2 separate regions of the Homo sapiens genome follow, and region 1 is linked to region 2. Evidence: promoter capture Hi-C in human tissues and cell types (Jung and others, 2019). All regions are on one chromosome and are shown on one strand. Each heading gives the region's core, a stretch centred on a gene start or on the middle of the fragment in contact. The rest is flanking DNA. Distances are from core to core; before and after follow the strand shown.

Region 1 (4,907 bases), core at 1,310-3,809, 270 kb after region 2:
AATGCATATACCTGTGACTCAAACCCTATCAAGATAGAGAACATTATCTAGAAACATATTTGCTTAAAAAAATACAAAAATTAGCCAGGCACAGTGGCGTGTGCCTGTAATTCCAGCTACTTGGGAGGCTGAGGTGGGAAGATCACTTGAATCCAGAAGGTGGAGGTTGCAGTGAGCCGAGATCATCCCACTACCCTCAAGCCTGGGTGACAGAGCAAGACTCTGTCTCCAAAGAAAAAAAAAAAAAAGCCTGCAGAACACCCCAAAGACCACAATCTTCTTACTGAAGATTGTGTTTAAATAGGGAAAATCTCAAGTCAACAATACTGATTTGGTAATGCATGAAGATTACACTTGCCAGCTGAAACAGAAACTACCTAAAGATGTTTCAACAAGAGTGTTTCTGTCTTTAGACTCTAAAGCCTCTGGTATTTCATTGGGGAAGGTAAGAAGGGGGTAGATTGTGAAATATTTGGTTGGAATTTTACTTTTCCCACAAAAAGAAAGGTTGTCTTGATGAGGCGTTTTTACTTGCCTCCCAGATGTCCAAAGCTATCTAACCGTAGGTTTAGGTCACACAGAGTACCATTAACTCCTGAACTGTAACTGTCAAGAAGTCTGGGAAAAGCACTGGATGATTCTGACATTTCCCTTATGCACTGAGGATCTTTAAGAAAGCACACCTTTGAAAGTAGGTATTTTTTTCTGGTTGAAAGACTATCTGAGCAGGGCATGGTGGCTCACACCTGTAATCCCAACACTCTGGGAGGCCAAGGCAGGCAGACAGCTTGAGCCCAAGAATTTGAGACCAGCCTGGGCAACATGGCGAAACCCTGTTTCTACAAAAAATACACAAATTAGCCAGAGTGGCGGCTTGGACCCTATAGTCCAGCTACTGGGAAGGGCAGTGGGAGTGAGGGGTGGGAGGATCGCCTGAGCTGGGGAGGTCGAGGCTGCAGTAAACCATGATCGCACCACTGCACTTCAGCCTAGGAGACAGAGTGAGACCTTAAAAAAAAAAAAAAAAAAAAGAGTCTCTGGAAAAACCTTCCTCTAAAAAGTTGAGAGCTTTTTTAACCTAGTAGCAGTGCATCTGTGGTCAGAAAGAATTACAGAATATAGTCCTGACCTAAAATGGTACAAAGGAGAAAAGACAAATCCTTTCAGCATTCAAATAATTTACTAAAAAATAAAATTTAGGCCTAGGATAGAGTAAGGAATTTCCGGAAGCAAATAATAGTAAAAAAGGGGAAGTAAATAATCCCTGCCTGAAATCTTAAGGATTGAAAAATTTGCCTTGGACTCCCAAAAAATACTAAGGAAGAATTGAGGTAAATGCTTATGACGGTTGCAGTACAGGGAAGAAAAACAAATGTAATATTCCGTAGTACTTGTGGTTTTCCCCCCAGGAGGCCAAATAATAGGAGATCATGTGTTATTCAAATATACACAAATCTGAAGGAAAAGGATTTTTCTATTACAGAAAACTCTCTGCTCTTAAGAAAAGCAAATAAAATATATAAGCAGCATGAATATCAACATTTTCCTTAATGATGTCTACTTTAAATGATGTCTAAAACACTCATACTGCATACTCATTTGGATACTTATTAGACCCTAATATGTATTCAATAAATATCTTAGGTGAATTTATTCTAAAATCTGTAACATAAAGTCTCTCCAAAATATTTACCATTTTGAAAAACTGAGACAACACCATTCAATAACTATATATCCAATGCTTATATGGCAGGCAGTGAGGAAAGACGGAAAAAGGTCCCTCATGCTCCTGACAAAGGGAGCTGGGGTTAGGGACAAACTTAGCTCCCTACCCAAAGACTACAGATAAAGCATCTACTAGAAGGAGGCCTCTTGTTCCATCAGTTTTCCAGTGTAAAAGGAACTTTGGTAACACTGAAGTACCTCTGTGTGAGCAAGTTTTTAGGTGACTATACAAATCAGCAATAGCAAAAGGGGACTAGAGAATCTATCTTTGCATTGTAACACATTTATGTCTTACATTATAAGCCAAAATATTGTTGGTATAAATATTCCTGCCCACACAATGAAAAGTAAACAAAAAAACCTATAAATTAAATTGATAAAGATGAAGTTAAATAAAAATTCTAATAAAAAAAGAGGAATCATGATGAAAACTGACATTATTTTGAGACAATTCAGATGATGCACCCCAAACTAAGCATACTTCCTGAATACTGCAGGAATCCCCATTCTGCATATGACATGTGAGAAGCTTGTATTGGTGCCAGGTTTCCCAGGACAGACTTCCTGGGCGAAAAAAGTATTAAGAGACCACAGTAAACTCCAATATTGTTCTAGTTTTAGGTTATGAATACCATGTTTTAGTAATCCTTAGTAATTCACTTGGTAGGTTATTAATAAGTAGCCCTTAGGCATACCTAAGTATGAACAACTATGAAGCAATAAAAACTTAAAAAAACAAACAAACAGTGCTATATTTCCCATGTGGAGGGACTGGGCAGAAACCACATCTTGAGAATCACTGCATTAAGGGAACACAAGAGCGAAAACAATTCTTCAGGAGGTAGAGGGGTAAGAAAAAACTAACACTGAACATTAAACTATGAGGTAATATACTTGCTGAGTAAGGTATTTCAAACCTTCTATTTGAGGTACATAGGACCTATGAAATTACGCCTGGAAACTATAATTTCAAGCAACAAGAAAGCTATGTGCAGAGTTCATTCCTTAACAAATTTAAGGAGTACATAAATTCCTTACTATTTCAAATGTATTCTCAGTTTTCAAAAGCTCAGAAACAAAGCGGAATGTTCTCTAAGAGGCCACCACTATTTATAAGATAACTTTTCCTGATTTAACCTTGTATATACCACACATTTATCTAAAGTTACTACTTTTACATATTTAACCAGCAACCACTCCCTTTTGGAATGGACACATTTGTATGTTTTCTCTACTCACAAAGGTTGGCAAGAAAAGGATTTCAAAAGCTGACTTACTGAATGATAAACCAAAGGGAAATATTCACTCCTTTGCACTTCTAAAAGTTGTAAAAGTCCCCTCCAAAAGGCTGTTGCCCAAGTTACGGCATTTACTACTTCGTGATTATTCTGCTTTTCAATTTTCTAATTTGAATATCAGGGAAAAAACTACCCAAATTCAATGATAACTGCCTTGAAAATGCCAAAAGCTTGAAGAGAAGCTAAATCCATAGTTTATTATCCCCAAATAATTCTTTTGAAATAGATTGCTGGTTCCACTGTGTTTCCCATTTGTGGTGACTACTGACTTTCCACTTATTTTGCAATCCTGAGACTATCACACCCCACTTTACAAGTATCCTACTAAAAAATACAGAACATTTCCTATTTATTTATTTGAGACAGGGTGTTGCTCTGTCACCCAGGCTGGAATGCAGTGGCTCACTGCATCTTCAACCTCCCAGGCTCAAGAGATTCTACCACCTCAGCCTCCCAAGTAGCTGGGACTATCTGCATGTGCCACCACGCTGGGCTAATTTTTGTATTTTTTTGTAGAGATGGGGTTTTGCCATGTTGCCCAGGCTGGTCTTGAACTCCTGGGCTCAAGTGATCCTCCCGCCTTGGCCGCCCAAAGTGTTGTGATTATAGGTGTGAGCCACCATGCCCAGCCATAACTTCCAATCTTAAGTAGTGTAATAGTGATTACTACCTTCAAGAATTCCTAACATTTTCTCCAAACTATATAGAGTGTGAAAGAAAGCTGTATTTAAAAAGATGCAAAGGGATTTCCCACTTCATTAGAACAAATTACTTCATTGTTAAGGAAAGCATATACAATTCTCAACAGACTAAATTAAGCTCACGAGGCCAGGCATGGTGGCTCACACCTGTAATCCTAGCACCTTGGGAGGCCAAGGTGGGTGGATGGCTTGTGCCCAGGAGTTTGAGACCAGCCTGGGCAACATGGCGTAACCCTGTCTTAAAAAAAGTGCAAAAATTGGCCAGGTGTGGTGGCTCGCACCTGTAGTCCCAGTTACTTGGGAGGCTGATGTGGGAGGATCACCTGAGCCTGGGAGGTAGAGGCTTCTGTGAGCCGTGATTGCACCACTGCACTCTAGCCTGAGAGACAGCATGAGACCCTGTCTCAAAAAAAAAAAAAAAAGAAAAGAAAAGAAAAAGAAAAAACAGAAAAAAAGAAATACAGAATAATTGTTTGTTAAACTCTTGACAAAACACACTTTTTTTTTTTTTAGCCTCCAGGCCCCACAGTGCTACATAACTCAGATTTGTTGTTTTTACCTGATTCACTACAGATTAACACACTATTATACAAAATGCTAAGTTTTTATTTCCCTTTGATACTTACTAAATGAAAAGTTATTTTGCTGACAAAAGCAGAAGCCCACATAGAGTATGCTGGTATACCTCCTATAATCAATAACTTGAAAATAATCACTGAGGGCCAGGCACAGTAGCTCATGCCTGTAATCCCAGCACTTTGGGAGGCCAAGGTGGGCAGATCACTTTGAGCTCAGGAGTTCAAGACCAGCCTGACCAACACGGTGAAACTCCCTCTCTACTAAAAATACAAAAATTAGCCAGGCACGGGTGGTGCTTGCCTGTAATCCCAGTTACTTGGGAGGCTGAGGCAGAAGAATTGCTTGAACCCGGGAGGCAGAGGTTGCAGTGAGCTGAGATCGCGCCATTGCACTCCAGCCTGAGGAACAAGAGGGAATCTCGGTCTCAAAAAAAAAAAAAAAAAAAAGTCACTGAGTACAGAAAAAAGCATAACATAGAAAGACATTAAATAGTAGGTTAGGGCAACATGCATCCTGGGAGATCAAATAACTCACAATCACCAGTTATAGTTTTTAAAAAGATCCACAGAATATAGGATCACAAAAACAGAAAATTCAGAGCAGT
Region 2 (5,074 bases), core at 2,564-5,063:
GGAAGGAAGAACCTCCACTCTAAGTATAAATGGGCACTGTGGTGGAGCTGCCTAACAACACTCCCTGATGTTCTGCGTGCTAATCAATCTGAAGCCCCATCAGAACGCAGGACCAAGGCCTGCCCAGGCTCTAGACAACATCTCCACGTTGTTGTTCCAGAACTACAACAGTATTCAAGCTGGATGCCAAATGTCAGGAAAAATCCCTTTGAGAACCAAAGCCTCCCCACCAAACCTCACATTCCACCCAATCACACAACATACCCGAGAGTACTGCAGCTTGTCCACAATGTCATCACTAATGAGGGGAATTAATCCTGTAAAAAACAGAAAAGCACTTTAAAGAAAACCAAACAGCCAAGCCAAAATGAGAACCCAGAAGCCTTCTGGGGGTGAGGCTGGAAGGAGGCCCCCTCCTGACACTAGGCACAATACCCTCCCTTTAACCTCCTAGTAAAAGGAGTACTCACCAAGCCTGTGAGCAATGAATTCATCATGAAGAACTGAGGAATTGGCATCAATCTGAACCCAGTCAATGGCTAAAAAATGAAAGAAGCAGACATGGAGTTTAGCCATCAAATTTACCTACAGACTTAATGCAGTGGTTCTCAAGATTTAGGAATCACCTGACACTAAACTGCAGATTGCTGGGCTGATTCCACAGCATTAGAGTGGGGCCCAGGTACTTGCATTTTAATAAGACCCACACACACCACACCTCACCTCCCTGCCCAGGTGAATTTAATGCAGGGGGCTCCCTGCTTCACAGAAAACACTGACTTATAGAATATCATAGAAGTGGAAACATGTTTATTTGAGCTGAGTATTTGCATGAGAAGCACTTAAATCTGCTACCTGTGCCACCACTAAATCCAAGAACATGAACTATTTGAGCACTTCAAAGTCAGGGAAACCCTCACAGAAGCAACACAGACTTATGGGGCCATACCTCATTTTAGGATATAATGACTGGACTGCCCAACTTAGCACTTTTTAAACACTCAATCAACAAATGTTTACTGAATTCTTTTAATGCGCAAAGTATACTAAATATAGAACCCAATCCCTAGCAGCAATGAGCTCGTAGGAGGGTAAAGACTGTATTATCGATCACACATGCTTGACTTAAACACACATTTATTCATTCATAAACATTTGCATGGAACCAACTAAATCCAGGAATCAAATGGCACTGGAGCCCAACTGCCAAACGAGGGACACAGACACTAGGAACAGCGGTCGGAAGAGGACCTCCCCCTGCCAGGCCTCCACCTGCTCTGTCCTGCTATGCTTCCCATTGCTTCCCCAGTCCAAGCCAACTGAGAGAACCCTGACCCAAGCTTTTCTGCCTCTTTAATCCCCCAGCCCTTCCCTCCAGCACACCCTTCCCCTCCTTGCTGTACAGGTTAAGATCCTCTGTGCCTCCTGAAAACTAAGCCTTGCCTGCTCTCTATGCTACAGATGTGACATTCCCTCCCTTTCAACTCCTCTCTCACAAAACTCTGTTCAGACTTCCCTCAAGACACTTGTCATAGTGTGCCTTGTGTCATATTTGTGTATGTTATGTCTATACCTCAAGCTTCAGAAATTCCTTCACGCAGGTCCTGGGATGTCTTTGTATTCCTAGCATGGGTGCTCAATATTATTTGTAGAACTGAATTTGTTGGGAAAGAGGCATTTAGACTCAGAATGGCAGGGCTGCATCATGAAGTACAACTCCCTCACCTGACTCCTGATGAAACTGAGGTCCAGAGGCATGAAGTGCTTAGGCAGGGGGAGGTCCAGCACTCCAAGCTGAATTTAAGAAGTGACTGGGGGGCGGGGGGGTGGGGTGGTGGTGGTAGTGGATAAACTACAATGTTCTCTTGCCTAATCATTTGGCCTGCTTATTTCCTTAAAAGTCTGAATATTTGATGCCACAGCTATGACTTATATTTATTTTGCCTAATCCAAACTCTCTGAGCTGACTCTCAGAAATGCTTGAAGTATTTCATACAAGTATAATCAATGCATTAAGCACCTGGAGCAGAGTGGCTGGAACCAGACCAGAAATTGATCTTCCCTCCTCTAAGAGCCAAGTGCACCACAGCTATGCTTCTCCTGAACTACTGATCAAAATCTACCTTGCTTTAGTGTTGTCTGTGGATTCATCTCTCCCCTACAACCTCACTGTGGACTCCATGAGGGCAAAAACCCTGTTCTCTACAGCTTTGCATTCCCAGAGCTTACCACCATGCCTGCCACTTTCATGCTCCATAAATGCTGTTGAAGGAATAGATTAATAAAAAAGCCATCTACCAGCACTGAGCACTCACTAAACACAAAGCACTTATATGGATTACCTCACTTAATCCTTAACATTACCCTGATAAGGATCATTAGTGGCCGAATGTTACAGATGAGGAAACTGCAGCACACAGAAGTTTAATAACTTGCCCAAGTTTCACAAAAGCAGTAAGTGATGCAGCCATAAGAACGAACGAAATCATGTCCTCTGCAGCAACATGGACGTGGCTGGAAGCCACTATCTTCTTTTTTATTTTCTTTTGTTTGAGAAGGAGTCTCACTCTATTGCCCAGGCCAGAGTGCAGTGGCATGATCTCGGCTCACTGCAACCTCCACCTTCTGGGTTCAATCAATTCTGCCTCAGCCTCCCCAGTAGCTGGGATTACAGGTGGGAGCCACCACACCTGGCTAATTTTTGCATTTTTAGTAGAGGCGGGCTTTCCCCATGTTGGCCAGGCTGGTCTCAAACTCCTGGCCTCAGGTGTTCCTCAGTCTTGGCCTCCCAAAGTGCTGGAATTACAGGCGCGAGCGCGGCCTGGAAGCCATTATCCTAAGAGAATTAACACAGGAACAGAAAACCAAACACCGCATGGGAGCTAAAACTGGGTACGCACGGACATAAAGATGACAATAAACACACTGGTGACTACTAGAGCTGGAAGGGAGGCAGTGGGGCTAGGGGTGAAAAACTACCTATTGCGTACTATGCTCACTACCTGGGTGAAAGGATCATTTATACCCCAAATCTCAGCATCACGCACTATACCCAGGCAACAAACCTGCACCAATGTACCCCTTGACTCCAAAATAAAAGTTGAAAACATTTTAAAAACTTTTGTAACAATAGTAGTGAAAACAGTATTTGAACCCAAGTCTGCACACTGCTAAACCCATGCTTCTCAGCAATGCATACCCAGGACAAGGGTGGACCTAAGTGGCCCGTGGGCGCCAGGGAGGCGGCCACTGAGCCAAGGGCACAGGGTATGGTCAAGTCTCCAGCAATGCACTTTTCTCAGCACTACCACCCTCAGCCCGAACCAAGGACTGGAAGGAGCCCCAAAGAGTGTGTGGGTGGAGAGCGGGGCAGGAACCCGTGGGCGCGGGAACGAGGAAGGGGAGTCGCTTACCTATTATGGGAACCTCAGCGATGAAGACCCTCCGAATCGAATTGGCCACCCTGAAAGATCAAAAGCCAAGGGGCGTGAAGGCGCTGCAGCCTCGACAGGCTGGGCCCGCGCCGCAGGCTCCCAAAGCTAAAGCCCTGGTGCAGGGGGGCAGCTCTGGAAGGACATCGCCCCCACCCCACCCCACTACACCCCCGCCCCCTGCCCCGGGGCCCCGGCTTGGGCCTCCCGGCGCCCCAGAGCCGCCAGCCTCTTCCCTCGGTAGCCTTACGCCAGGTCGGTGTTCTCGATGATGAACTTGACATTCTCGTCAGTGAGCTCCGTGATCCGCACGGTAGGCTGGTTGGCGTACGGCATCTCGCCCAGGGGCCACCAGCCTCCGCGTCTGCTCCGCGGTGACTGCGCGGCGCCACCGCCAACACCGGAAGTCAGTCAGCGAGGCCTCCGCGGCTTCCGCAAAGACGACTCACAGCGCCGCCTGCTGCTCGGAGGCCAGAACTGCCGAGCGTCTTCTGCGGCCTCCTGCTTTAAAATGTACCAGATTCAGCTATCTCGGAGGGTAGTTTGGCAAAACACGCATACGTCCTTCACTTAACAGTAACACTTCTAAGAATTCATACTGCAGAAACACTTGCAGTTGTAAACAAAGATACGAGTGCAGGGACGTTCGTGGTAGTACTGTTTGTACTGTCCATTGATAAGAGACCTGGTGGAGTATACACACATGGAATACTATGAAGCACTTAAAAAGAACTTGTACATCTATAGAAAAACAAAAGTATATTTTAATATGAATGTATATTTTAGCAAAGTATACCTGAATTATAAGTAAATACCCTTTCCCTTGCAGTCTCAAGTATGGACCATGCACTTCTGAAAACTTCAGGAAAAGATACAATGTTCTTTAACCTAATGCTTCCTCTACAGTCTGTGTAGCTGTGGTGGGTGAGTGGGAACTCTTTGTCTCTGCATCCCCAGTGCCTGGCAGTGGGCACCATGTGGGGTGCATGCTCAACAAAGAACTACTGAAGTCCCCTAAACAGACTGGAGAGAGGTTTAAATGGGCCTCAAAAAAAGTGGCTGCTGCTCCAACAGAGAAAAGCTCTAAAATAGAACGTGGCAGGAAATACATTTAAGAGTTGGGAGAAGAGTAACCAGATAAAGAGGAGTTTGCCTTTGCAAAGAGTGACACCTCTTCCTGAAACAGAGGGTGGGCACTGATGGAACCCTGCTCCATAACCTGTGTCATCTTGGTAAATTAAGAATTATGGTTGTCTGCTGAGTGTAAGATGGATGCTATGAAGGAAAAAGGAGAATGCAATGAAAACTGGAACAGCTACTGCGAAAACTTCACAGGATGTCAAGAGATACAAGGAATTGAGAGGTGCAAAAAAGATCCAGTGGAAGACCCACAAGAGATCTGAAATTCAATTAGTTGCTGACTTTCCCCCATTAATATTCAGCTGACAGGCAGAAGAGAGCAAAGCAGAAAACAGAGCTAACCAGACGTGCAAAGGGAACCCAGCCAGTGTAGAGGCTGAGAAAATTACTGGGGCTAAAGAATGTACCACTAAAATCGTCAGACAAGAGCAGCCAAGGGAGCTGATGGTCTGTGGGAAGGCTTCTGTTACCCGTATTTTACTGATGGGAAGACTTGAGCCCAG

What was found. The method cuts DNA at HindIII sites, captures the fragments that hold promoters and counts their contacts. A contact is called where the count stands out against the background at its distance.
Region 1: a contact is called between a fragment that was not itself captured here and the fragment with the promoter of POLR2C in region 2, in 1 of the 25 tissues and cell types used here (dorsolateral prefrontal cortex).

Annotation. Positions count from the first base shown.
Region 1 is chr16:57,188,833-57,193,739 of GRCh38, reverse strand. All of the region lies in intron 1 of RSPRY1 (ring finger and SPRY domain containing 1), which reads right to left. Among named protein-coding and RNA genes, the nearest start is that of RSPRY1, 5.0 kb to the right of the region's middle. The HindIII fragment of the contact is 4,068 bases long and covers 526-4,593 here.
Region 2 is chr16:57,461,418-57,466,491 of GRCh38, reverse strand. It overlaps POLR2C (RNA polymerase II subunit C), which reads right to left and starts at 3,813. Exons shown (of 9, transcript NM_032940.3): 1 at 3,682-3,813; 2 at 3,414-3,463; 3 at 471-539; 4 at 265-317. The coding sequence starts at 3,767. RefSeq lists an enhancer at 3,661-3,955. The HindIII fragment of the contact is 18,274 bases long and covers 1-5,074 here.